Regions from separate parts of the Homo sapiens genome. Here regions 2, 3, 4 and 5 are each linked to region 1. Evidence: promoter capture Hi-C in 16 types of primary human blood cells and fetal thymus (Javierre and others, 2016). All regions are on one chromosome and are shown on one strand. Each heading gives the region's core, a stretch centred on a gene start or on the middle of the fragment in contact. The rest is flanking DNA. Distances are from core to core; before and after follow the strand shown. Region 1 holds the start of BLOC1S5 (biogenesis of lysosomal organelles complex 1 subunit 5). Region 2 overlaps CDYL (chromodomain Y like). Region 3 overlaps SMIM13 (small integral membrane protein 13). Region 4 holds the start of TMEM170B (transmembrane protein 170B). Region 5 overlaps RPP40 (ribonuclease P/MRP subunit p40).

Evidence for each region. The method cuts DNA at HindIII sites, captures the fragments that hold promoters and counts their contacts. A CHiCAGO score of 5 or more calls a contact.
Region 2: a fragment that was not itself captured here is called in contact with the fragment with the promoter of BLOC1S5 in region 1 in 4 of 17 cell types (activated CD4 T cells, naive CD4 T cells, total CD4 T cells and 1 more); the score reaches 8.2 in activated CD4 T cells.
Region 3: a fragment that was not itself captured here is called in contact with the fragment with the promoter of BLOC1S5 in region 1 in 5 of 17 cell types (naive CD4 T cells, total CD4 T cells, naive CD8 T cells and 2 more); the score reaches 9.0 in naive CD4 T cells.
Region 4: a contact is called between a fragment that was not itself captured here and the fragment with the promoter of BLOC1S5 in region 1, in 1 of 17 cell types (naive CD8 T cells). The highest score is 7.6, in naive CD8 T cells.
Region 5: a contact is called between a fragment that was not itself captured here and the fragment with the promoter of BLOC1S5 in region 1, in 2 of 17 cell types (activated CD4 T cells and total CD4 T cells). The highest score is 6.7, in activated CD4 T cells.

The regions. Positions count from the first base shown.
Region 1 is chr6:8,062,983-8,068,257 of GRCh38, forward strand. BLOC1S5 (biogenesis of lysosomal organelles complex 1 subunit 5) reads right to left here and starts at 1,407. Exons shown (of 5, transcript NM_201280.3): 1 at 1,283-1,407. The coding sequence starts at 1,394. BLOC1S5-TXNDC5 (BLOC1S5-TXNDC5 readthrough (NMD candidate)) reads right to left here and starts at 1,432. Exons shown (of 13, transcript NR_037616.1): 1 at 1,283-1,432. All of the region lies in intron 3 of EEF1E1-BLOC1S5 (EEF1E1-BLOC1S5 readthrough (NMD candidate)), which reads right to left. RefSeq lists enhancers at 615-1,241, 851-1,040, 2,731-2,830, 2,841-2,990. The HindIII fragment of the contact is 8,031 bases long and covers 1-2,524 here.
Region 2 is chr6:4,777,961-4,783,087 of GRCh38, forward strand. The region is part of intron 1 of CDYL (chromodomain Y like); the gene reads left to right. Among named protein-coding and RNA genes, the nearest start is that of CDYL, 4.1 kb to the left of the region's middle. The HindIII fragment of the contact is 531 bases long and covers 2,625-3,155 here.
Region 3 is chr6:11,095,747-11,100,414 of GRCh38, forward strand. The region is part of intron 1 of SMIM13 (small integral membrane protein 13); the gene reads left to right. Among named protein-coding and RNA genes, the nearest start is that of SMIM13, 4.2 kb to the left of the region's middle. RefSeq lists a silencer at 635-714. The HindIII fragment of the contact is 4,078 bases long and covers 1-4,032 here.
Region 4 is chr6:11,533,868-11,538,596 of GRCh38, forward strand. It overlaps TMEM170B (transmembrane protein 170B), which reads left to right and starts at 3,882. Exons shown (of 3, transcript NM_001100829.3): 1 at 3,882-4,507. The coding sequence starts at 4,411. RefSeq lists silencers at 3,346-4,175, 4,206-4,365, 4,466-4,545, 4,556-4,729 and an enhancer at 4,175-4,676. The HindIII fragment of the contact is 342 bases long and covers 1,357-1,698 here.
Region 5 is chr6:4,993,527-4,998,652 of GRCh38, forward strand. RPP40 (ribonuclease P/MRP subunit p40) reads right to left here. Exons shown (of 8, transcript NM_006638.4): 6 at 2,696-2,894; 7 at 2,425-2,559; 8 at 1,191-1,750. The coding sequence ends at 1,552. Among named protein-coding and RNA genes, the nearest start is that of LYRM4-AS1, 7.7 kb to the right of the region's middle. The HindIII fragment of the contact is 635 bases long and covers 1,855-2,489 here.

The DNA.
Region 1 (5,275 bases), core at 157-2,656:
AATCACCAAGTAAAAATAAATACATCAGAGTTACACTTATCAACATAAATATAAAAAATAATACGTATTTTATAATAAATATAATAAAAAAGCAAGTTTCAGAAGGATTAAAGCAATTTACATAAAACTTTAAAATATTCAAAATATTTCCTTTTGGGATATAGACAGAAGCAACAAAACTATAAAGAAATGCACAAGAATAATAAACACCAAATTCTGGATAGTGGCTACCTTGAGACGAGGGAGGGGAACTAGTGCAATTAGAGCAAGACACAGTGGGGCTTTTAGTAATTTATTTATTAAGGTGGGTGGTGAATGTTCATTGTAAGTCTCTTTTTCATAAGTCTGAAAAAGTCATTAAGAAAAGGTCTGAATTTAAGTCTTTTGGTGAGTCAGTTTATTATTCTTCTTAGTTACAACTATGTAGTTTAAAATGTAAGTCTCAAAATTCCTTGAGAAATTAAATCTAAGACAATGTATTATTCATATTCATTCACTGGCAATGTTCCCCAAATTTTTCATTTTTGCAGACATACGATGGGCAGGTTTCAATTCTCTATTTTAATGAATTTTATTAGTACATATCTTCTTAAGCATGTCAAGTAGAAAAAATAATACAAGCACTGTATATAAGCACTTTATATCTGGTATATATAAAGCACTACAACTCAACTGTCAAAGACTTTCACGCAGCAAACAGCGTTGTGAGCTTTAGGAGTCAAACCTAAAGCAGATTCTGTGAGAATCTAGGTTGTAACCTTCTCCCAGCTCAAAGCACACAGAACACATGGACATTTCTGAACGTGAATGGTTCTTTACAGTGCTATAGAGCGCCTTCGTAAGTGTATCTCACTTACTCCTCGCACGACCAGGAACAGATCGGGTAGGAGAGTGAGTAAAGCCAGTGACCCGAAGTCACTCAACTCCTAAGCGACTGCCTCCCGCCTCCCAGGTCCAATGCCCTTTCCACTACACGTCGGTGGCGAGGCTGCCCAAAGGCTCTGCGCCCAGGGGTCCTGAGCTTGCGGAATGGACGGGGGCGGGCCTGATGGCTCAGGCTGCGACAGAGGAAAGCGGGGAAACACGAAGAGTTGGGCTGGTTGGTTGTGGTGGGACGCATTTGGCGCGGGGAAAAAGGCGGGGACCGACCACGACTCCCCCACCCGCACAAACGCACGCGCGCCAGCCCGGGACCCGGGGGTCGGCCCGGGTCAGAGGGCGCCGCCTGGGAGATGAGGCTGTGCTGGGATCCACCAGGAACTATAGCCCTGACACTCCGTACCCTTGATAATGAGGTGCGCTGAGCCCGCAGTCCCCAGGGAGTCCCTCTTCTTGCTGCCACCGCCCGGGGCGGCCTCACAACCCACAGGGGTCTCTGTCCCTCCGCCACTCATCCCGACCAGTTCCGCCCACCCGCGGCCACGCTGCGCCTGCGCAAACCCGGCCGCCCTCTTACAAGGCGCGCCCGGGTTTTTTTTGTGTGTGTGTCATTACAGGGCGCCGGAGAAATTTAATCTACCCAGCGGGCGGTTCCGGAAAGGCGCCTGCCGTGTAGTCAGGCTGTGAACTGGCAGAAGCTCTTGCCGCCATGCTGGATCAGGGCGGATGCTGCTAGAATAGGAAGGTGCTTGAACTTTGGAGCTAAACTCAGAGCCCTGGTTATTTGGCTCAAAGCTGGTGCATTCCAGTACAGTTGTCCTCCCATATCTGCTGAGAATACATTCCAAGACCCCCAGTAGATTCCTGAAACTGCATATAGTACTGAACCATGTATATACTATGTTTTTTCCTGTATATACATATGATAAAGTTTATAAATTAGGCACAGTAAGAGATGAACAATTAGAACAATTTAATAAAAGTTATGTGAATGTAGTCTCTCTCCCAAAATATCTTATTGTACCGTCCTGCGGGTAATGAAACCACAGAAAGTGAAACCTCAGATAAGGGGGGACTACTGTATAGCAAAGCCAATTAGCTGGGGGCTGTTTCCCTACTATGCCATGAGTGTGGCTGACTATTCCTGCCTTTCTTTTTAGACACCTGTTTCCTAGAATGCTTCTCTTGCTCCCTCTTTCTGTTCAAGTCAGTAAACTCACGTTGTATAATAAAGAATTTGACTGGACTTTGACTCTGGTTCCTGGGAGGTACCCTCAATCCTTAGAATTTCCCAAGTGATAGAAGTGTCTTTGTTATTCATGGTGGGCCTCTGGAAATACACCTGAGTTTATGCTAATGAGATGGCTCATGGAGGGCCCAAGATGATTTCAGAATGGAGGCTGGCCACACCAGAAGGGCCGGCCAACCATGAGGGCTTAGGCTTTGAGTCACATAAGCAGGCCCACCTCTGGGGAGCAGATTGGGGCTGGAGACTGAGTTCAGCCATGTGGCCAGTGATTTAACCAACTATGCCTACATAATGGAACCCCAGTGAGTACTCTGGATGTGGAAGCTCAGGTGAGCTTACTGGTCGATAATCATTCATCAAAGTGTCAGGAGGGGGAAGCGTTCCTGAGGACACGTAAGCTTCTATTTGGGAAATCTCCCACATCTCGCCCTATACATCTCTTCATTTGGCTGGTCCTGATATGTGTCCTTTATAATAAAACTGTAATAGCAAGGAAAGCACTTTCTTGAGTTCTATGAGTCATTCTGTGAAACCTGAGGGAGTAAAGCGAATAGCAATGAAACATCATGTGTAGAGAGAAGCTGCGTGGGTGAGAACTGAGGCACCCTAGCAGACAGTGCTCAGGCCCTGGGCATATGACAGAGACAGCTGGTCAGAAGTGCAGGTGGCCTGGGAACCCCAAAGCTTGTGGCAGGTGTCTGAAGGGGAGTCTTGAGGAGGACCATGCTTTGACCTCTGAAGTCTGTGCTAACTTCGGATAGCACTGCAGTTTAACAAACACTTACATGGCACTTGCTACATGCCAGGTAATACTGTAAGTGGTCTACAAATTTGCATTCATTTAATCCTCATGGCCGGCCTTTGAAGTAGTTATTATTAATGTCCTCATTTACAGACGAGGAGGCTGAGGCACAGAGAGGTTAAATGACTGCCTGACTTGTATGTGGCAGAAACAACTGCCTCTGTGTCTCTGTGTATGTGTTTAAGCATAGGTGGTGGGTGAAGAGAGAGTGGGGAAGGGAGATTTGGAGAGAAGGGAGAGAGAAGCCATATTAACTTTAACAGGCCACATGGGCTTTTCATTTTTTCATTCAAAAACATTTAACAAATACGTTATTGAGCAGCTGCTACGTGCCCAGCATAGTGCTAGGAGCTAAGACACAGTGGTGAACAAGACTAATGCAGCCTTTTCCTTTCCTCATGCAGCCTGCAGGGGAGCCAACACTGAATAAGTACACAATTACTTTTCTGCAAGTCTGTTGCTTGTAGCCTGTGAATATGTGTTCTAGCCATTTGATTATACACTATTAAGTTGTATTGTTCTCTGGGATGGTGAGGTCCAGCATATGCCTCTGTTCTCTCTCCGCTTTTATATAAATCTTTACACTGCGGCTCAGACAGCTAGGAGACTGAGAAGCAACATTGGCAGTGCCATTTCGCCTGGCACATTCAGCTGCTATGAGTGTGTCCTTGGTCTTTGACCCATGAAATCTCAAGAGTTTTGAGGCTAAAATGGGACTCTTATCCTTTCCCTGAAGGTCTTGTATTGTCTCTTATTGTCTCTGGATTGACAAGACTTTCCCTGTATTTTTAAATGAAATTTTTATTGAGGTATTTGTAGCTTCTCATGCAGTTGTAAGAAATAATAGAGTTTCCTTTTACACTTTGCCTAGTTTCCCCCAGTGGTAACATTTTGCAAATGCTAATGTTACAACCAGGATATTGACATTGATACAATCCACCAATGTTATTCAGATTTCACCAGTTTTCCTTGTATTCATTGTGTGTGTATATGTTTAAGTTTATGCAATTTTATTACATGTAGATTTATGCATCTATCATCACAGTCAGCATACTGACCAGTTCTGATGCCATAAGGATCTCGTTAAGGTTCCTGTTTATAACCACATTTACCTTCCTCCCTGTCCCCACCCTGACTTCTGGCAACCTATCATCTGTCCTCTATTTCTAAAAACTTTTTCACCTCAAAAATATTATAGAAATGAAATCATACATTAAGTACCTTTATGTTTTTAAGAATAGCTGTACTCACATCATAACCTCTATACAAGATTGGAGAATCAATATCATATACAAATATAAGCATGGGATTGTAAAGGGATTTTTCCAATTACTGTGCTTTTTGAGACTCAAGACATCTAAATCATGGAGATATTGTCAATTTAGTAGAAGTAAAGTTCTGACTTTGGGGGAAATTTTTTGCTGTAATCCCATGTTGAATCTTTTGAAAATTAAAAAATAAATGAGTTATTACATGTATACCAAGAATAAAATTATAATTTATTCCTTAGTATAAGCCCATCAAGGGGAACCATAATTGGCACAGGGTGGGAGATAGAGGGACTCCTAAGTTTATTTTGTGTTCTATCACATCCACTCCATGAGATTTCCTCTGCAACATCTTTTATTGACATTATTTCTTATTTTTGTTTGTCTAACCTATTTTAGAAATGGGTTAAAAAATTAAAAAATGCAAAAACTGATTAAAGCAAAGGAGGAGAAAAGAGTAGGTGGTCTTGCTGGGCGTGGTGGCTCATGCCTGTAATCCCAGCACTTTGGGAGGCTGAGACGGGCGGATCGCCTGAGGTCGGGAGTTCGAGACCAGCCTGACCAACATGGAGAAACCCCGTCTCTACTAAAAATACAAAATTAGCTGGGCATGGTGGCACATGCCTGTAATCCCAGCTACTTGGGAGGCTGAGGCAGGAGAATCGCTTGAACCCGGGAGGCGGAGGTTGCGGTGACATGAGATTGCACCATTGCTCTCCAGCCTGGACAATAAGAGCGAAACTGTCTCAAAACAAAAACAAAAAAAGAGTAGGTGGTCTTTTGGGTGAGGTACTAAATATTACTGTGTAGCAATCTCATAACATTTTGGAAATGCGGCCGGGTGCGGTGGCTCACACCTGTAATCCCAGCACTTTGGGAGGCTGAGGTGGGTGGATCACCTGAGATCAGGAGTTCAAGACCAGCCTGACCAACATGGTGAAACCCCATCTCTACTAAAAATACAAAAAATTTTAGTATTAGCACCGGGTGTGGTGGCAAACACCTGTAATCCCAGCTATTTGGGAGGCTGAGGCAGGAGAATCACTTGAACCTGGGAGGCGGAGGTTGCAGTGAGCT
Region 2 (5,127 bases), core at 1,640-4,139, 3.3 Mb before region 1:
ACCTTAGCTGGTACTGAAAATGTTCCATTCTTTTCAACCATTTTACACATTAGCTGTGCCCCGCTGTATTCAGGATACTATTTTAGGTCATTTGGGGATGTAAAAGAAGAAAAATCTCCCTGTTCTCAGGAGCTTTCCTTCTAGGAAGGAAAGTGTTGTGTGTCTGGAAGACACAGAAATGGAGGCTAGGATGTTTGAGGTTGAGGTCTTCCAGGTGAAGTCTGTACAGGGGGAAGTACATAGCATGAGGGTATGGGGGATTTTAGTTTCTACATTAGATCATTCTTTGGTTGTTTAGTCATGAGTGTTCACTCTTGGCATTTGCTTTTATGAGTATGATTACATAATCAGTTCCATCAGTGGATGAGAGTAGCACCTTATACGTAAGTTGTATCCTATGTGTGTAAGAATGATTCTGAAGACAGCACATTTCCCATTAGTATATTATGAACTAAGTTTAGTTCCTTCTGTGCTTATTCTATATCTTCAGGTTTCTGTTCCTAACAGAAGTTATTAATGAGTAACATTTTGTACTAAGTTTGTGTTCATTTAACGTTTATTGAATGCTTGCCATATGGAGGTTTCATGGGGAAATACTGAGGTGTGAGAATGGTTCATGCTTTCAAGGAGTGTCTGTTGGGGAGGAAGTAAGTATATTGCAAATAAATGATACACCTGCACAATTGAACTTTTGATTCTGAGTTTTATTTTAGTTTTGGAAAAAAAGGTATTATAGAAGTATAGTTCAGGTGATAAATTTAAGTATGTGTAGTAAATATGTAGTGGTCAGTATCTTTCAAGGCAAAATTTGTAACTTTTCTTTTACTTGTAGGCAACACTGTGACTATGTTACCATTGAAAGTTGACATTGAAAGTTTTGCATGGCAGTTGAGAGCCTAGATTTGGAGTCAGACAACCCAGTTAGTGACTTCCAACTCTATCACCTTGGGTAAATTAGCCTTGAAAGCTCAGTTTCCTCATCTGTGAAATTGGGATCAGTGTTTCCCTTATAGAGCTATGAAGTTTACATGAGAACATATGTAAAGCCCACCCTAAAATTCCCATGGCAAGCACCCAGTAAGTGATGATGATTGTATGGTAACTGGCTTAAAATGCCTCCCTGAAACCTGGTTTTGTTTCTAAAGGTATAGAGTTGTATTGTTTTCATAAAGGCAGTATTATCTGTAGGGCAGAAGTGATACGCAATTGTAAATGAACGCGATAGTCTGACAAGGCTGGGAAAGACACTAAGATGATGTTTTGTGGCCAAGTCAAGGGTTGTTAGTTGCCTTGTTTTGTCCAGTTCTGCCTAAACTGAAATAGAAGTTTTCTGTTTGGCCTCAGGCTCCACAAATCTAGAGGGATATATTGACAGGAGGAAATGTGAAGTCTTGCTTCTTTGAACTCACATGGTCTGGTAGGAGGACAGGTCTGCAGTAACTGGGAACTTGGGTGAGTTACCCAACTGCTGAGCCTTGGTTTTCTCGCCTAAAAGAAATGTCTCCAATACTTAGCATGGAACCTGGTATGTAGTAATAGGTCTTTAGTAAATGTTTAAATGGCTATTGAAACTAGGCTTTGTGAACAAAAAATAAAGGAACAGATCCTGGAAAAGATGGGTAGAGCATGAACCTTGCAAAATTTGAAGAGTTACTATTAGTTGAAGGATGGAATAGATTTACTCCCTACTTTTCCAGCTGCTAGGATTGAGGAAAAACGGATTTTTGATGCGGCGTAGGTTAGAACTTCATAGTTTTCACAAAAAGACAAGCGTCCTTTACATCACGCTTCTAATGTAAAGGGCCAGATAATACATATTTTAGACTTGTGGGTTATATTATGGTCTTTGTTGCAACCACTCAGCTCACCTCATGTAGTGCAAAAGCAGTCGTAGACTCCTATATGAATGTGCGCTGTGTCTCAAACTGCTTATGGATAGTAAAATTCACTTAGTATATTTCATATCATTTTATGTGTCATGAAATACACATTTGTGTTTTTTTTCCAATCACTTACAAATGTAAAAATGATTCCTAACTTGTAGGTTCCACAAAAATAGGCAGTGGGCTGGCTTTGCCCTGTAGGTTGTTGTTTGTTAAGCCCTGCTGTAGGTGATCAACTGTCATAGTCTGTTTAGGAATCTGGGTTTACTCAAGGGTTGGGGATGTATGGAAGTTAGACGGTATTTCTAACTTTCATCCCAGCTCTAGACTTAGAGCTGGAAGATCTGGGTGGTAATCCTCCCTCCTTTCCTCCTTCCTTTCCTTTCTTTCTTTCTCTTTTTTTTTTTCAAGAGTCTTGCTCTATCTCCCAGGCTGATGTGCAGTGGCTTCATGTTGTCAGCTCACTACAACCTCTGCCTCCCGGGTTCAAAGCTATTCTCATGCCTCAGCCTCCTGAGTGGCTGGGATTACAGACGTGCACCACCCCCGCCTACGCCCCCCCCCCCCCGCCCCCGCCCCCGCCCCGGCTAATGTTTTGTATTTTTAGTAGAGACAGGGTTTCACCTTGTGGGCCAGGCTGGTCTCAAACTCCTGGTCTCAAGTGATCCGCCCACCTTGGCCTCCCAAAGTGCTGGGATTACAGGCATGAGTCACTGCACCCGGCCTTCCCTTGTTCTTAGAAGCTTGTTAAGTAACTCATCTTGTACTTGTCTTAACTATCCTAAACTTTCTCATCAGTAAAATAGGAGGATGATAACCAAATAATTGAGGCTTAAATGGCATTAGCGTGTAAAAGCAATTCTACAAAACGTTTTCCATTTTTAAAGAGGAAAAAAAACCCATCCAACTCTCAAACCATGAAACCAAACCTGTTTTCCCTTCCTCAAGATTTAGGATTTGAAAGTATTCTATAAACTGATTATATCACCAGAGAAAGCTGTGAGGTCAAGAGGACCTTAATTTATTTAGCAGTCAAGTAACCACCATGAGACTTTGTTCACGTGGGACTGAATAAGGAACGTATGCTGTAGTAAAATGGAATAAGTATTCTCTTTATTTGTATGTCTTAATAATTCCTTTTTTCCTCAGTAGATGTGGAGTTATTCCCTTGAGAACTCCTGTAATAGTTAATTCAAATTTCAGTAAGCTCTCAATGATTAGTCTTGACCTTCTGAGAGAATATTTATGTTTTCATTTTCAAAAATGGAAGTAAGCTTTTAAGAATGAAATCGTATCTGGTGTGTAAAAAATTGTTTTAAAGTTGATTAGTTTGACAGGATGATCAGGATTTGCAGGGGAAGGTAGGTCTTTTGAATCTTTCTTCCTACTTTGCGATAAGATTCCTGCTCTCTCCTGTGCACCACAAGGCTTTTACTTACATTGACCAAAAGCAGTTGTGAATAAAGTCTCAATCTGTAGTTCAAATGGAAGTCACAGAGACCAGGACACCTTTCATGGATGTTGGCCAAGCTAGGTCAGCGTATGTTGTATATGGTGTAGCTGTCTGAAAAGATTGGAATCACCAAAATTAGTAAAGAAAAAGAGTTCATTTGACTTCAGGAGTTGATAGTGAGGCAGTGAGGTCAAACATGCATGTGTGTTTTGACAATAATAGCCTATCTTAAATGCTCTTTTTCCTGTGAGTTGCTGAGAATATTATTTATTCATTTGCCCCAGCAGCAGTGTGGAGACCTCTCATGTGCTCTTCCTTTGAACTACTTTCAATTCCTGTGTACCAGAATAGCGTTTTTTTCATTCTTGCTGTGATATCTAAGAATCATAGACTGTTCCCTCGTGCTCTATAATGATTTTAACCACGGAGAATATTTTCATGGTATGTAGGCAACACTTTCTTCGCATTGTTCTGGTTCACAGTTTTGGATAACTGTGATTCACAAAGCCAGGCCTCAAATGAATTCTTTTGTAAATAAGGAGTGATAGTTTTTATATTGTGAGCACTCCTAGGTGGAACAGGACCAGCCTGGGGTCTTTTTTCAATTCAGATTCTTGAACCCAAACCACGAGATTATAATTTTCAATGTTTGGATGGAGACAGGAATCTTATGTTCCGAGAAGCTTCTTTTTGGAATGCAGGTGGATTTAGGAGCCTCTGGATACGCCCTTCTGTGTTTCAGACCCTTAGGCTCTGCGTGGAGGTGGGTGGGGGTGGGTTGGGGATCTGCCTGGCGGAAGAGGAGCTCTCGGTGGACCAGACTGGTTCTTTCTGCAGGCTCCTTGACCACTGCTGGTTGTTAACTGAGTAATTCCAGGAAGGGAATATTAAAAACATCAGGTAGTTAGCTAAGGGCGTTGTAATTTCTGTTTTCTGTCTTTATTGCCTGGCATGTTTGTCCACCAGAATGTAAGTGCTTTAAAGCTCAGATTCATTTTCTGGTCATTATTTTCCACAGCTCAAAATACTGCAATCGTTGCATAATTGTTGAGTTACTTTAATGGAAGAGTGAATTACAGGAATGAATCTCCATTCCTGACTCCTTACTTACCTCGAGGTTCCTCCTCCCCTAAGCATTATGCCTCTTGCTGTTCTTTTTACTCTTAGTTCCTCATCTGCTTACATGGTTTCAACTCTAGAATGGAGAATTTCACTGTTTCCCACACAAACTTAATTCTCTTCAGCCTTTTAAGCTGGGCAAGGTTTTGGGGTTCACGTTCTCTAGGAAGTCTGGGGAGGGCCTATTATGAGTCTAGATATGACTTTAAATCCAATTATAACCTCAAATAGAATTTTATGAAAATTTAAACAAGTACATATGAGCATATTTCAGAGGGAGAGAATCAAGAGCTTTCATCTGATTCTCAGAGGGATATAGGACCCAAAGCAAGTATTAAAAACTGCATCGAGACCTTTGAACTAAGACTTATCTGTGGCTGCCCTCCACGGACCACTTTGACATTATTTTTGTTGAACTGTCCTCTGCCACAAATTACAGTAAAACCATATTAAAACCTCACTGATTGGGTTTAGAAGTTGTATGCTATTTCTAGTCTTTAAGTGGCTAATTTTGCAGCTATGCATACATGATGTCTAAAGATAGTCAGTATTTAATGGCACTTCTGACAATGTAAAGATTTTACATTCCTTGAACCCTGGTGCATTCCTGAACTCACATGCTACTGCTTTCTTATTGCCCATGAAAAAATCCCTCATCAAATAGAACATTAT
Region 3 (4,668 bases), core at 744-3,243, 3.0 Mb after region 1:
AATAACCTTTCTCAATTTTCTGCTTGTGATATCAACAAGCAGAAGAATATTAGAATATTGAACTAATTGTAGATGTTTAAGGTTCTTGAAGTAAGGAAAACAAAATCCTTGTGATATGTTTGGATGTGGGGAAGGAGGGAAAGCATTTATTACCCTTTCTAGTTTGAAAATGCGAGCTACCTGGACATGGGAATGAATGTGACACGTAGACCCTACCATACCTTCACTAGGATATTTGCCAAATTTACCTTTATGGCTTCAGAAATCCAAATTGCTCTCTCATCTCTAAACAGCTGTTTGATGGTTTAATTATACACATTTTTCTAAAAGTGCTTTTAGTTTCAGAAACATTAAGGAATAAGAGAGATGAGGTGTGCTAGGACAGCAGTCCCCAACCTTTTTGGTACCAGGGACTTGTTTTGTGGAGAACAATTTTTCCACAGACGGAGCAGGGATGGTTTTGGGATAAAATTATTCCAGCTCAGATCATCAGGCATTAGTTAGATTCTCATAAGGAGCGAGCAACCTAGATCCCTCCTATGTGCATTTCACAATAGGGTTTGTGCTCCTATGAGAATCTGGTATGTCGCTGATCAGACAGGAGGCGGAGCTCAGATGGTAATACTTGCCTCCTGCAGGGAGGAGGGATCTGTGTGCTAGGGCTGGAGAGCCCTGTGCTAGGACACCTTAGTTTTTGGAATAGTCAAGAACTAAAAGCTCTATGATGAAGTGATCAATACTTTTTTTGTTGTTGTTGGGAGAACTGATGATGGAGTAGCCTCATCTTTTGACTAGGATGGGGCGGGAACTTGGGGAGAGGAGGCAAGGATCAGACCAGACTTAAGAGAGAAATTGGAGTGCGATATTAGTTTGCCAGGGCTGCCATGACAAAATACCAGAGACTGGTGGGTGGCTTAAACAACTCATTTCTTTTCTTTGTTTTGCTTTTTTTTTTCTTTTTTCTTTTTTTGAGTTGGAGTTTCACTCTCGTTGCCCAGGCTGGAGTGCAATGGCGTGATCTCGGCTCACCGCAACCTCTGCCACCCGGGTTCAAGCAATTCTTCTGCCTCAGCCTCCTGAGTAGCTGGGATCACAGGCATGCGCCTAGCTGATTTTCTGTTTTTAATAGAGATGGGGTTTCTCCATGTTGGCCAGGTTGGTCTCGAACTCCCAACCTCAGGTGATCCACCCGCCTCGGCTTCCCAAAGTGCTGGGATTACAGGCGTGAGCCACAGTGCCCGTCCCCAGTGCCTGGCTAATTTTGTATTTTTAGTAGAGATGCGGTTTCTCCATGTTGGTCAGGCTGATCTCGAGCTCCCGACCTCAGGTGATCTGCCCACCTCGACCTCCCAAAGTGCTGGGATTACAGGCATGAGCCACCCATGCCCAGCCAAACGCATTTATTTTTTTACAGCTCTGGAAGCTAAAAGTCAGAGATCAGCAGGGTTGATTTTCTCCTGAGGCTTCTCTCCTTGGCTTGTAGATGGTGGTCTTCTCCTTATGTCTTCACATAGTCTCTCCTTTGTGTGTTCTAATCTCTTTATAAGGACATCAGTCGCTGGATTATGGCTCCTCACCCTATGACTTTATTTAACCTTAATTACCTCTTTAAAAATCTTTATCTGCAGGCCGGGCATGGCGGCCCATGCCTGTAATCCCAGCCCTTTGGAAGGCAGAGGCAGGCAGATCACCTGAGATCAGGAGTTCGAGACCAGCCTGGCCAACATGGCGAATCCCCGTCTGTGCTAAAAAAAAAAAAAGAATACCAAAAATTTGCCGGGCATGATGGCACATGCTTGTAATCCCAGCTGCTCAGGAGGTTGAGGCAGGAGAACTGCTTGAACCCAGTAGGTGGAGGTTGCAGTGAGCCGACATTGCACCATAGCACTCCAGCCTGGGTGACAAGAGTGAAACTCCGTTTCAAAAAAAAAAAAAAAACCTTATCTCCAAATACCGTACAGTCACACTGGGGGTTAGGATTTCAACATATGAATTTGGATGGCACACGATTCACTCTATAACAAGCACCATGTCTTTAGCACTGGCTGAAAGCTAGGGAGTAGCTGTATGCCCATAAAACAGTTGTTTTTACCCTTCTAGCGGTCACAAGCCCTTTTGAGAGTCTGGTAAATGCTGTGAACCTTTCTTTTTTTTTAAAAAAGAAAAATTCACCCACATAACTTATCTGCTCCCTGCTCGCCGCCCCCCCACCCAATTTCTGAGATTTCATGGACTCCTCTTCCTTGAATACAAACATGGAGTTCAGATCAAGAGGCTCTGCTCTTTGGGCTGGGTCTCCTGTTTTCTTATTTCATTCAGTTCAACAAACTGAATATTGAGTGTCTACCAGGAACTGGGAACACAGTTCCTGTCCCTAGGAATTTATGTAGTTTTCTCTAGAGCTCTGACAGACTCCTTCACCTAGTGAATTCTGATGTCCAAAGTTCAGATTCCTAGGCAGGTTTCCCTTCTGTCTACATTGGTTGTCTCTGCTTTCTCACCTCTCATTCATTCCAAGGTGTTTTCTACCCCCACTATTCAGTGATGCTGCTGTTGTCAAAGTCAGTAACAGATGGCCTCCATATTACCCAGCCTGTGGTGGTCGCTTCTTAGTCCTAACTGAGCTTAAATTGTCATATTCATTCCTTACAGTTAAGTGATGTCTGCTAGAAACATTTAACGTTTCTTTTATTTACTTTTTTTGAGATGGAGTTTTGCTCTTGTTGCCCAGGCTGGAGTACAGTGGTGCAATCTTGGTTCACTGCAACTTCTACTCCTGGGTCTAAGTGATTCTCCTGCCTCAGCCTCCTGAGTAGCTGAGATTACAGGTGTCAGCCACCATGCCCAGCTAATTTTTTGTATTTTTAGTAGTGACGGGGTTTCACCATGTTGGCCAGGCTTGTCTTGAACTCCTGACCTCAGGTGATCCACTTGCCCCGGGCTCCCAGGGTGCTGGGACTACAGGCATGAGCCACCATGCCGGGTCCATTCAACATTTCTTTGGCTTTTATATACTGTATTTCCATGATGTTCTTCCTACCACAGTGGCTATTATTTTTTCTTAGCTTCTTCTCATTCCCTAGAATTTTCTTTTTTTGACCACAACCTACAATAGAAAATAGATTATTCCTAATATGTTCATAAGTGTACAGATTACATGTGTTAGTCCATTAATACATCTATTTACTTATCATCGATCTCTGAAATAAAATGTTTATGGACTAGTACTTGCCTACTTGCCCTTACTGTATGAGAAGATTCTATTTTTTTCTATTATGTTTCTATAATATACTGCAAATACATTTCCCTTTTCTTTTACTCCCCAAGGTCTCCTATCCAGTCCTAGAGATTTAAATGTCTGCTCTAGCTAATGACTCAAAAATTTGTTTCTCTAACTCTTATGTCTCTCCTGAGACCCAGGCTCAATGCATCAGACTTTTTTTTTTTGAGACGGAGTCTAGCTCTGTCGCCAGGCTGGAGTACATTGGCGCGATCTCGGCTCACTGCAACCTCCACCTCCTGGGTTCAAGGGATTCTTCTGCTTCAGCCTCCCGAGTAGCTGAGATTATAGGCGCCCGCCACCACACCCGGCTGGTTTTTGTATTTTTAGTAGCGATGGGGTTTCACCATGTTGGCCAGGATGGTCTCAATCTCCTGACCTCGTGATCCACCCGCCTCAGCCTCCCAAAGTGCTGGGATTACAGGTGTGACCCACCGTGCCTGGCCCATACTACATGTTTTACTTGTCCATCATCTGTCTCCCACACTAGAGGGTAAGGCCCAATGAGGGCAGGCATTTTGTTTTCTTCACTACTATATCCCTGACACCTACAGAAGTGTCTGGCACATAGTAGACACTCAATAAACATTTGTTCAACAAATGAATAGATGAATGCTGCAGAATACCCAAGCTCCTACAAATGAAACACCTGATATGCCCAATGGAGATCTCAATACAACAGATAAGAGTTTATTTCAATTCTGTTACTCCAGTTCTCCTAGTGGTGAGGGTAGAGGTAGAGAAGCATCATAAGCTTTACAGACCTAAATAGCCACTATATATTTTTAGACATTATTAACCGTGGTAGATGCTCCATCCATTTCTTTCTCTGCTTGCCATTGATAATACATTTAGCTGACTTAATAGTGTGGATTTATATTTTGACTCTGTAAACATTATTCTCTGCTGGTTAAATAGTGTAATATGACCACACTTTCATTTTTACATGGTTCTTCAATTTTTTGAAGTTAATACATAATTGCCTTTTTAGCTTACCTAGTATTACTTTGGTACATTGTTTTTTTGTTTTTGTTTTTGTTTTTGTTTTTTTTGAGAGGGAGTCTCACTCTGTTGCCCAGGCTGGAGTCCAGTGGCGTGATCTCGGCTCACTGCAGCCTCCACCTCCTGGATTCAAGCGATTCTCCTGCCTCAGCCTCCCGAGTAGCTGGGACTACAGGTGCCTGCCACCATGCCCAGCTAATTTTTTGTACTTTTAGTGGAGATGAGGTTTCACCGTGTTAGCCAGGATGGTCTCGATCTGCTGACCTCGTGATCCACCTGCCTCGGCCTCCCAAAGTACTGGGATTATAGGCATGAGCCACGGTGCCTGGCCTACTTTGGTACATTGTTATGTGCCCCCTACCAGATGTTCCACAATCTCTTACACT
Region 4 (4,729 bases), core at 278-2,777, 3.5 Mb after region 1:
AAGCAAAATCACAAATCTTACATACATATGTGTTCACTAAAACACATAGAATCAAAATTCGTAAAGCGCAAACTACAAAAAGTACACAGAAATATAGGCTGAAATATATTATTTGTAGAAGACTTAACCTCACTCAGCCTGTGTTAAGACTGCATTATTTGTTCATTACCATTTGTTGCCCCCTCCCATTCATTCTTTCCATCCTTCTCTGTAGGCAGAATATACTTTTTTATCCCATTCACTTAGGGGCTTAACTATGCAATCTGCTTCAAACAAGGGAATGTGGATATGTGACATGCATGTGACATGGACCCCATATCTGAGCATGAACTTTAAATGCACCTGTGTAGTTTAGCCCTGCCTCTCTTGTCCATGCCAGAGCTGGGATAAGGATGAGGTGGGTGAGACAAGGTCTTGCAAGTGCAGGGTGAGATTCTGTGTTTATTTAAAATTTTGGTATTTCATTAATCATGGATTTTTGCATGAATTTTTATTTTTAAAAATATTATATTAGTATATTATTTATCTTGATAACAGAGTGTTTCAGAGTCTGTTGTCAAGACTTGCAGGCAAGGCTTTGCAGGCAAGGCCAGTGTCCCATTGTAGCCCTGGTTCCAGCCCTATACCATGAGAATGGCATGTACTCAGAGCGTGACATCTTCCTCAGCCTCAGGTATGAAATGAGAAGACCTGTGGAGCTGGACTGAGCTGAATCAAGCTGAATCAGTCTAGATTTTGGACTTGCATGGGGCCTGTAGCTCCTTTGTTGTGGCCAATGTCTCCCATTCGGAATGGCTGTATTTATCCAATGCGTGTACCCCCATTGTATCTAGGAAGTAACTAACTTGCTTTTGATTTTACAGGCTTATAGGCGGAAGGGACTAGCCTTGTTTCAGATGAGACTTTGGACTGTGGACTATTGAGTTGATGCTGAAATGAGTTAAGACCTTGGGGAACTGTTGGGAAGGCATGATTGATTTTGAAATGTGAGGACATGAGAGTTGGCAGGGACCAGGGGAGGAATGATATAATTTGGCTCTGTATGGTTTTATCAAGGGTCTCCACTTTTGCGTCTTCCTCATTCTCTCGTTGCCTGCTGCCACCCATGTAAGACGGGACTTGCTCCTCCTTGCCTTCCACCATGATTGTGAGGCTTCCCCAGTCACATGGAACTGTAAGTCCAATTAAACCTCTTCCTTTATAAATTGCCCAGTTTTGGGTATGTCTTTATCTGCAGCGTGAAAATGGACTAATACGTTAAGTTGATACCAGTAGAGTGGGGTGCTTCTGAAAAGATACCTGAAAATGTTTTTCTCAAAAGATCAATATCATTTTATATTTTAATTGATTTTAAAAAGCTTTCCTCTAGGTTGTCTCTGGACAGTTTTAAAAATGACTAAGGCTAATGGGTGTTCCCTCACTTACATGAGAGAAATAAACCAGGAATTTTGGTTTATGAATTACGTTTGTGAATTGTTTCATGCTGAAGGGCACAGAGTTGAAAGGAAATTTTTGGATTCACTTGGGGTGGTCCCTGATTTCTGACAGGAACGTGACTAAACTCTTCCTGAATTGGTGTATTAATTCAAAATAAAAAATCTGTAGGAAAGAAATTCCAAAACTTTCATTTGTATTAACTCAGTTTTGGGTTTCATAACTCTGGCTGTTGGGAAAATGTCTAATTCTCTTAAGGATATAAGCTTCCAACACAGTCAAGATCATTACTTTTATCAAGGAAAACCTAAGTAGCCTAGAGAGTAGAGATCTTATCTTCAAATGTTACAGATAACACCTTGCACAGAACATTACAGATAGTAGATGCCAAATAAATATAGACGCCAATTAAATTGAACTGAACAGCAGGGGTGAAGTTGTTGGGCAGCAAATAACATTACTGACTTGAGACTTCATTGCTGTGTCTTTCTCATTTCCTGACATGAACACTTGGATTCTGTAAAAAATATTTATTCAGAACAAGAACAATGCTGACTTTTCTATGAAGATCATTCAGTGATTCATTCAACAAATATTTGTGGTGCAGGTGCCAGGCACTGTCCCAGGTTCTGAATATTTTCACTGCGTGCTACTGTGTTTTAAATAATAGTGTGCAATCCTAAGAACGTAAACTAACTAAAGGTTTCTGATATGAGAGTTTAATGAGCCCCTGCTCAGGGAGTTTGCTGTGAACCCTTCACTGAATGTGGTCACATTCCCTAACATCACTAATTATGTAATGCCAAGTCCCTTAAGAATATCATTAGGTAACCTGCACTTCCCCATCAAGAATCTTAAAGTGAGGGAGTTAACAGTGGGTTAAGAAAGATAATGTGGTTGCTAGAAAGAATAATAGACCAGGAATTCAGAAACTGAGCTGTGAAGTGCTGTCATCTCTGTCAAGTCACTTAATTCACAGAATCTGTTTCCCTATCTGTAAAATAAAATTAGAAAAATGTTAAAGCGCTCTTTTAGGTTTGATATTCTGTAATCTTGTTAATAGATCTAATTAAGTCTAAATTCTAGGAGGAAGATAAACTCTACATTAAGAGTTTTGGCTCAATTCCTATTAATGGTGCAAAAATTTCTCTTATGTTGTGACATCAAAAAGAAAATACAAATAAACAAAGAAATAAATGTGTATGTAAATATTATTTTAAAGTGGTCACCAAGAGCACCATTTGACAGGTAATTTGACCCTTCAGTGCTTTGTCAAATATACTTCATGATTTAGCTACAGCAGGTATTTCTTCACTTCTCTTTGTAAATTTTTCTTTATCCAGATGGCAGAGGGGTTGAAAAAAGGTGGGGGGAGGGGCTGGCTACTGCATATTTATGTTACTGCTAAAACTTAAATTTTTATTTTTTAAAGTTAGAAGGTTTCCAATTTCGAGGAGTTTAACTTGTAGTTGGATTTTAGATGCTCCTCTGGCTAACGCTGGACATGAAGACAGACAGCAAAGCGTGGGGAGAGAGATCTAGTTTAAGTTCGAGGGAAAAAAATAACAGACGCAACTTAGATAAAAGAATACTACCATCAAAAAAAGGGGGGCTAGAGCCGGCGATGGCCTTGAGGATTAGGACACCTGCCGAGCCTGGAGTAAACAGGTAATGTCAGGCAGGTCCTGGAACCCCGGGAGGCCCAAGTTCTTGCTGCGGGAAGAGGGATTAGCAGAATGATAACGCAGGTCTGTTTGTGTTTTAGGGGTTTTAACATGCATTCTGCAAGTAAGTGACCTATCCAGGTCATTCGATTCAGGCTCAGAAAAAAAACCCCGCAAATTAATATATCTAAATGCTGAGATAGTGACACCTTTTTAAAAAAGTTATACATAAGCATCTTTATCAAAAAGCATTACATTTTAAGGCAAAAATCTGAACTGTCACAGTATCCACCTCACCGAGTTCAGCAGCCCCACCTTGGGTCAGGGCTGCCCCTGCAGCGCGGGCCCCCGAAATGCCCGCACCGCCCACGCCGCCCGCACCGCGCGCACCCAGCCGGGCCAGGGCGAGGGATCCAGGTCTCCCGGTCTCTCAGGGCGCGCGCCCGGGGTCCGGGGGTGGGGGGCGTGGAGGCGGTTCCCTTGGAGCGCCCAATCAGCAGTAAGGCCCGGCGGTGGCGCCAGTGACGTAGACCGCGCTTCCCTCCGCCCCACTGCGGGCCGTCGCTCGGCGCCGTCAGCCACGCGCGCTGCAGCGCGAGGGGAGAGCGAGAAGGAGGGCTTTGGGGCCGACCGGCTGTTGGAGGGCGGCGGGTCGCGGGGAGCGGGGGAGTGAGCATGCGCAGCGGCTCCGGGGAGCGCAGGGGAGGAGGGGCCGGCGCTGAGAGGCGCGCGCGTGCGCGTGCACGAGTGGCCCGCCGGCGGCTGCGGGTGGAGGGGGCGGTTCCTCGAGTGTCGGCGACCCGAGGGCGGGCAGGCGGGCGGCAGGTGCCGCCGCAGCCTCTGGCTGGTCCCGCGTCTCCGTCCTCCGGCGGCGATGAGCTGGGCCCTGTCGGGGGCTGCACCTGCCGGCTGCCCATCAGCACCGGCCTCCTGGCGTGACCTCGGCCTCCTCGCGTGTCCAGTCCCCGCGGCGCGGCGCTGCCCCTGAGAGGGAGCGGCGGCGGCCTCCTCCGCCCCGAGTCCTCGCTCGGGGGCCGCGCGAGGACGGCGCCCGGCCCCCTCCCCTCCTTCCTCCGTCCGCCGTCCTCAATGTCTCCCCGGCGGGGAGGGGGCTGCCTGGGAGACACGCTGAGCGGCCCCCCCACGGAGGCCCTCCGGCTGCAGCAGCAGCAGCGCCCGGCCCGGCGTCCCGCAGCCTCCACCAGCGGCGGCGGCCTGGAGGAGCCGCGCACCCGCCGCCGCCCCCCGAGCCTCGCAGCCGCCGCCGCCGCCCGGCACCCGAGGAGAGGGCGGCGGGCGCCCCTCGGGGAAGATGAAGGCGGAGGGGGGCGACCACTCCATGATCAACCTGTCGGTGCAGCAGGTCCTGAGCCTCTGGGCCCACGGGACGGTGCTGAGGAACCTCACGGGTAATTGACGCGCCTGGGCTGGGGACGGGGATGCGGTCCGCCCCTCTCCTGTCTTCTCCTTCCTCGGGAGGGGACACGCTCCTCGCCGCCCCACCCCCGTGCGCGCCCCGCTCGGAGCTCCAGGTCCCGGCGAGGAAGGTGTTAATCGGAGCCACTCTGCGCGTGTCCCGGGGGCGCCGGCTCCCGCCACCCCCTTCCCTGAGTCGCCAGGGGAGCATCAGC
Region 5 (5,126 bases), core at 922-3,421, 3.1 Mb before region 1:
GTCTATTTTACACTTGTGATTTTTTTCTATGAACTTACATTCCTTGAAACTCTCCGAGTTCCTCCAAAGACAATCTGTTTTGCTTCTGCCAGTTACCTGTAAGGCAGTAAAATCCTGTTATCACTTGAAATTTCCCTCTTGAGATTTTTTAAGACTATCCAGGTGGTGCAAACAAGCCACCCTAAAAACTGCTGTTATATATAAATCCTGTGGTTATATATAGGCTCTCAAGTAAGATGTTTTCCCCCAGGACAGAAATCTTCCTTGCTGTTCACAGGGGTTGGGGGGATGGGTGAAGCAGATGGATTTATTCCTAGTTTACCCCTACATTGCATCTATCCTTTTGGAGTCTCACTTTATGAGGTCTCCTGTTAGTTTTCCTCCCTTGGGCAGGCCCTGAGCTTTGTGTGCTGTTCTGCAGCCCCTTCCCACCCCAGGCTATGAGAAGAAAACTTCAATTTGGCATTTGGCAGATGCACTAAGGCGGAAAAGTGGCGTCAGTACTCCACTTACTTCTTTGGGTTTCTGCTTCCATTTACAAAAAAAAAAATTTTTTTTTCCCTTTAAGAACTCTTATTTTGCAGCTCTTGTTTTTTACATTAAAAAAATGGTTCTTCAGACAAAAAACCAAACACCGCATGTTTTCACTCATAGGTGGGAATTGAACAATGAGAACACATGGACACAGGAAGGGGAACATCACACACCGGGGCCTGTTGTGGGGTGGGGGGAGGGGGGAGGGAGAGCATTAGGAGATATACCTAATGTTAAATGATGAGTTAATGGATGCAGCACACCAACATGGCACATGTATACATATGTAACTAACCTGCACGTTGTGCACATGTACCCTAAAACTTAAAGTATAATAAAAAAAAAATGGTTCTTCATATGTATTCTAAAGTTTTAGTTGTTTTCAACTGGTCCTTATCAGCCTTACTGCTGGAAATAAAATTCTTTCAACCTGTTCTGTAACGATTTACAGTATCCATTGATCCCTCTCTGATCCAGAGGCATTAGCGTGAGAACACACTTAGGAACTAGGCTGGCCTGAGATCAAGTCTCAGGTCCACTGCCACTATAACTTCGGTAGTGTATTTACACACTGTGCCTCAGTTTCCTCAAAGGGTTGGTGTGAGATTCTAACATGGTAATATATAAACAGCACTTACAACAGGGACTGGCCCTGGTAAGGATGAGATTTCTTTTTATTATCTGAAAAAGTTGTAATGAACAAAATATATCTCAACCAATGGAGTGAGATGGGGACCAATATCCCCGGTCCCTGGACATCCTGGCCCAGTGTACCACATAGTAACCCACAACCCTGTGCTTATGTTGACAGAGAGAAATCAACTATGAGCTATTCACTGGACAGCAGGCCTTGCTGCCATCACAGATGGGTCTCAGGTGCAGGGCAGGATGCCAGCAAATGCTGATCTGAGAAATGTCACCATCACACAAGCCTGAGTGGACACACAGACCTTTTACCATTAAGAAATCTGAAAGCAAGCGTAAATGTAAGTAAACACGATTTTTAATTTTTATTTTTTATGGTGGACAGTGATCATTTGCCCCAACAGCCATCTGAAGCCAATAGTCCTGATTATTAAAAATCACAAAGTTATATAAATGTTCTCCTCCTTTTCGAAAACCATGTTCATTTTTTTCCCAAGAAACAGGGCTGTCTGCAAAGCCTTGAACGGACAGTGTAACCCATGGAGCTAACTTCGGTTCATCAAAGTAGTGACTGAAAAAAAGGTAGTTGTTAAACAGAGTTTTAAAAGAGAGTTAGGAATGTCTGCATTTTAAAAAATTTATTCAGGATAAGTAGTATTTCTGATATTCTAATAAAGCTTAGATCTTAGCTTTAATTTTTGAAAATCAAGAGGTGTGTGATAAGTTCCTGATGTCACACTGTGAACTCCATAAGGATTAACTAATATACAACACATGAAACAAACCTCAGCTGTTCCCACCCTCATTCTGGGAGGTCTTTAAGACAAAAAGAACCCAAAACAAAAAACCCCACAGGCGTTTAAGGATCCTTTCCCTCCTATTAAGAGTACTGTTCTCAGAGTCTCAGTTAACTGAAACGTTGCAGGATAATTCACCAGATTTTTCATATCCAGCCTTCCTATCGAAGAAAGTCAAAGTACTAAACCAATAAATGTGAAAAAGGATGTTGGGCTTAAAAAGGAAAACCTTCAAGACTTAAATCTGACATTTCAAAAGGGAAGACTGAGAAGATATGCTTACTAAATAGGATTATACTCAATGTACGGTCTTTGCAATAGGCGATTTGAGTTCCTTTCAATGTACATTTTATTTATATACCACCTCCCAAAATGAAAAAATCTATACTATTCGACATACTGTTCTATAGAGCACTGATGAGCGATATAAAAGGTAAAGAGTTCTCACCAGAGATGTTCCAATAGGAGACAGATCTTCTCTGGAAGTATGAAGCCAGTGATTGTACACAAATAAGCTTTTGCCACCACTGTGCTTGGCTCAGGACAGCAATAGGTTGATATGAAATTATTAGGCTCATTATTTCTGTCACCAAAAAAATAAAAGAGAGAGAGATAACACATGTATATCCATCACATGATCACTTCCAAAGTATTAAACTCCTATTAAAAACAAGCAGCAGGCCAGAGCCCTGGAAGACACAGGGAGTTCAGATACCCACAGGTCGACATTACTGAAGACGGCGCCGAGCCAGTCGAAGAGCTCCAGAGCCCGGCAGGACACCTCTGGCGTTCCCTCCAGCTCGCTGCTCTGCAGCACTGGGCACTGGAGATCTCTCAACGTGCTCAGTGCTACTTTTGGCTGATGCTCCTGAATTTGGTACTTGGAAAAATATGACATCATTGTCGATTCTTCTGAACCTTAAAAACACACCACACAAGGCCATTTGAATCCATCTGACCATCGTAAGCAAGTTTAGTGAATACCTGAACCCACCCATTCCCATCTGAGCGGTAAGATTGAGTAAGATGGAAGCTGTGCAGAGCTGCATTCAAATTAAAATCATTTAAAGCTGCTTTCAGCTCCTTTTGCTCAAGTTCTGTAAACGTTCATCGTTTTTCACACTTTTCCTGGAAAAGCACAACAGTTTCTGATCAGACCCAAACTAGTTTCACTGTTTGTGCTAATAAAAAAATTTCAACTTCACACTTAAAACCAAAAGCATTCCTGATGTATGAATAATATTAGTGAACTCCAGAGAGAAGGAGCTTATCTGCACAACCTCTATTAAAGAAAAAGAAGAGAAACTGAATGGTGATTGAACCTCATCCCAGCTTGACTTTGAAAACCCAATAAAATCCAGCGTATCTTTTCAGGGATGTTTGTGTAGCCAACGGCCTTGGAAGACAGAGATAGTACTCCCTCCACGGCAAAGGGCAGGCTTGCTTACTGTCCAGTATAATAGAAATAATGTCACCCTCCCTCTCTCCGGGCAGATATCAGCAGGCTTACTGTCCCTTACAAAGGACTGGAGTTCTTAAACTCCAGGTTCCTCTCCTGTAATGCAACCTACTGCATGTGCCAGCATCGCTTGGTGTCACTCTGGAAATGGGACTTGGTGAACTGGTGCAAATGGTGATATTCGGTGTGATGGTTAATTTTAGGTGTCAACCTGACTGGATGAAGGGTCATCTAGATGGCTGGTAAAGCATTATTTCTAGGTGTGTCTGTGAGGGTGTTTCTGGAGGAGACTGGCAGGTGAGTGGGTAAACTGAGTGGGAAGATCTGCCCTCACTGTGGGTGGCACCATCTACCCGGCTAGGGCCCCAGGTAGAACAAAACGTCAGAGGAACAGTGAATTCGCTGTCCCTTGGAGCTGGGACTCCCTTCTTCCCCTGCCCTTGGACAGCAGAACTCCAGGTTCTCTAGCCTTTGGACTCTGGGGCTTGCACCAGCAGATCCACAGGTTGTCAGGCTTTGGCCTTGGACTGAGAATTATACCATCTTCTTTCCTGATTCTCAGGCCTTCATATTTGGACTGAGCCAGGCTACCAGCATCCCTGGGTCTCCCACTTGCAGACAGCCTGTCGTGGGACTCCTCAGCCTCCATAACTGCATGATCAATTTCCCTAATAAATCTCCTCTCATCCATCCATCCATCCATCCATCCATCCTATTGGTCCTTTCTCTCTGGAGAACCCTGACTAATACATTTTGGCTACTACCATTCCTCTGAGGAATTAAGTCCTGTGTCTCTGACCCAGGGCTTATGTGTCTTCTGCCAGCATCCCTGAGACTGTAGCAGGCTACCTAGTTAGCCTGCAAGTATGAGGAAATCTCAGAACTTTCACAGTCCTGACAAATCCTTAAAATAGTTAGGAGCTTTAGGAATAGGGAGCTATCCAGAATCCAACGTCTGGATGATCTGCATAGAAGACTTCACGCAACTGAAACTTCAATAAGCCTTTCTGCCCTCTTTTCTATCTACCATATATGGAAGGAGAGGCACCGAAGGCCAGACCTAGGACTCATGGGAGCAACTTGGAGCACCCAGTGACGAGACACTTCCCATGAGGAGCAGACAGATGGGGCTATTTCTAAAACAGACCACCATGCTTCCTATCCTCCAAAAGAGAGTACTACACCATAATTCCTGATGACTTGATCCATTATTATCTGGGTCAAAGATACACTTCTAAAAGGAGCAACATACATGGCCGTTTTAGGCAGATTACGCTGTGTGGTGAATAGCAAACTTTGAACTAAATTTAGTGTCCTAATCAATTAAAAGTTAGAATAAATTCATCTGACATTTAATGGTAGGCCTGAGTCAGTACCCTGTGATAATAAATAAGCAGATTGTGTATATAATTGGTGCTACTTAAAAATATTATAGTCAAGGCTGTTCAAGGTAAGCTGGAGAGAGGAAAGGGGAGAAATAGATAAAATTTAGCTGCTCTGAAGCCACTCTCAAGATCTCTGGATCTACATATAACCCAAAGAGACGCAGGCAGAAAGGCCTGCGTGCCTACATGATCCTGAACTATGGTTTTCAGAGATGTCAGAAGGGCTAGTTTCCTTAATAATATTTTTATATATACGTATAGAATATTCCTTGACTAAAGAGTGAATCACCATTCAATCCTCCATTA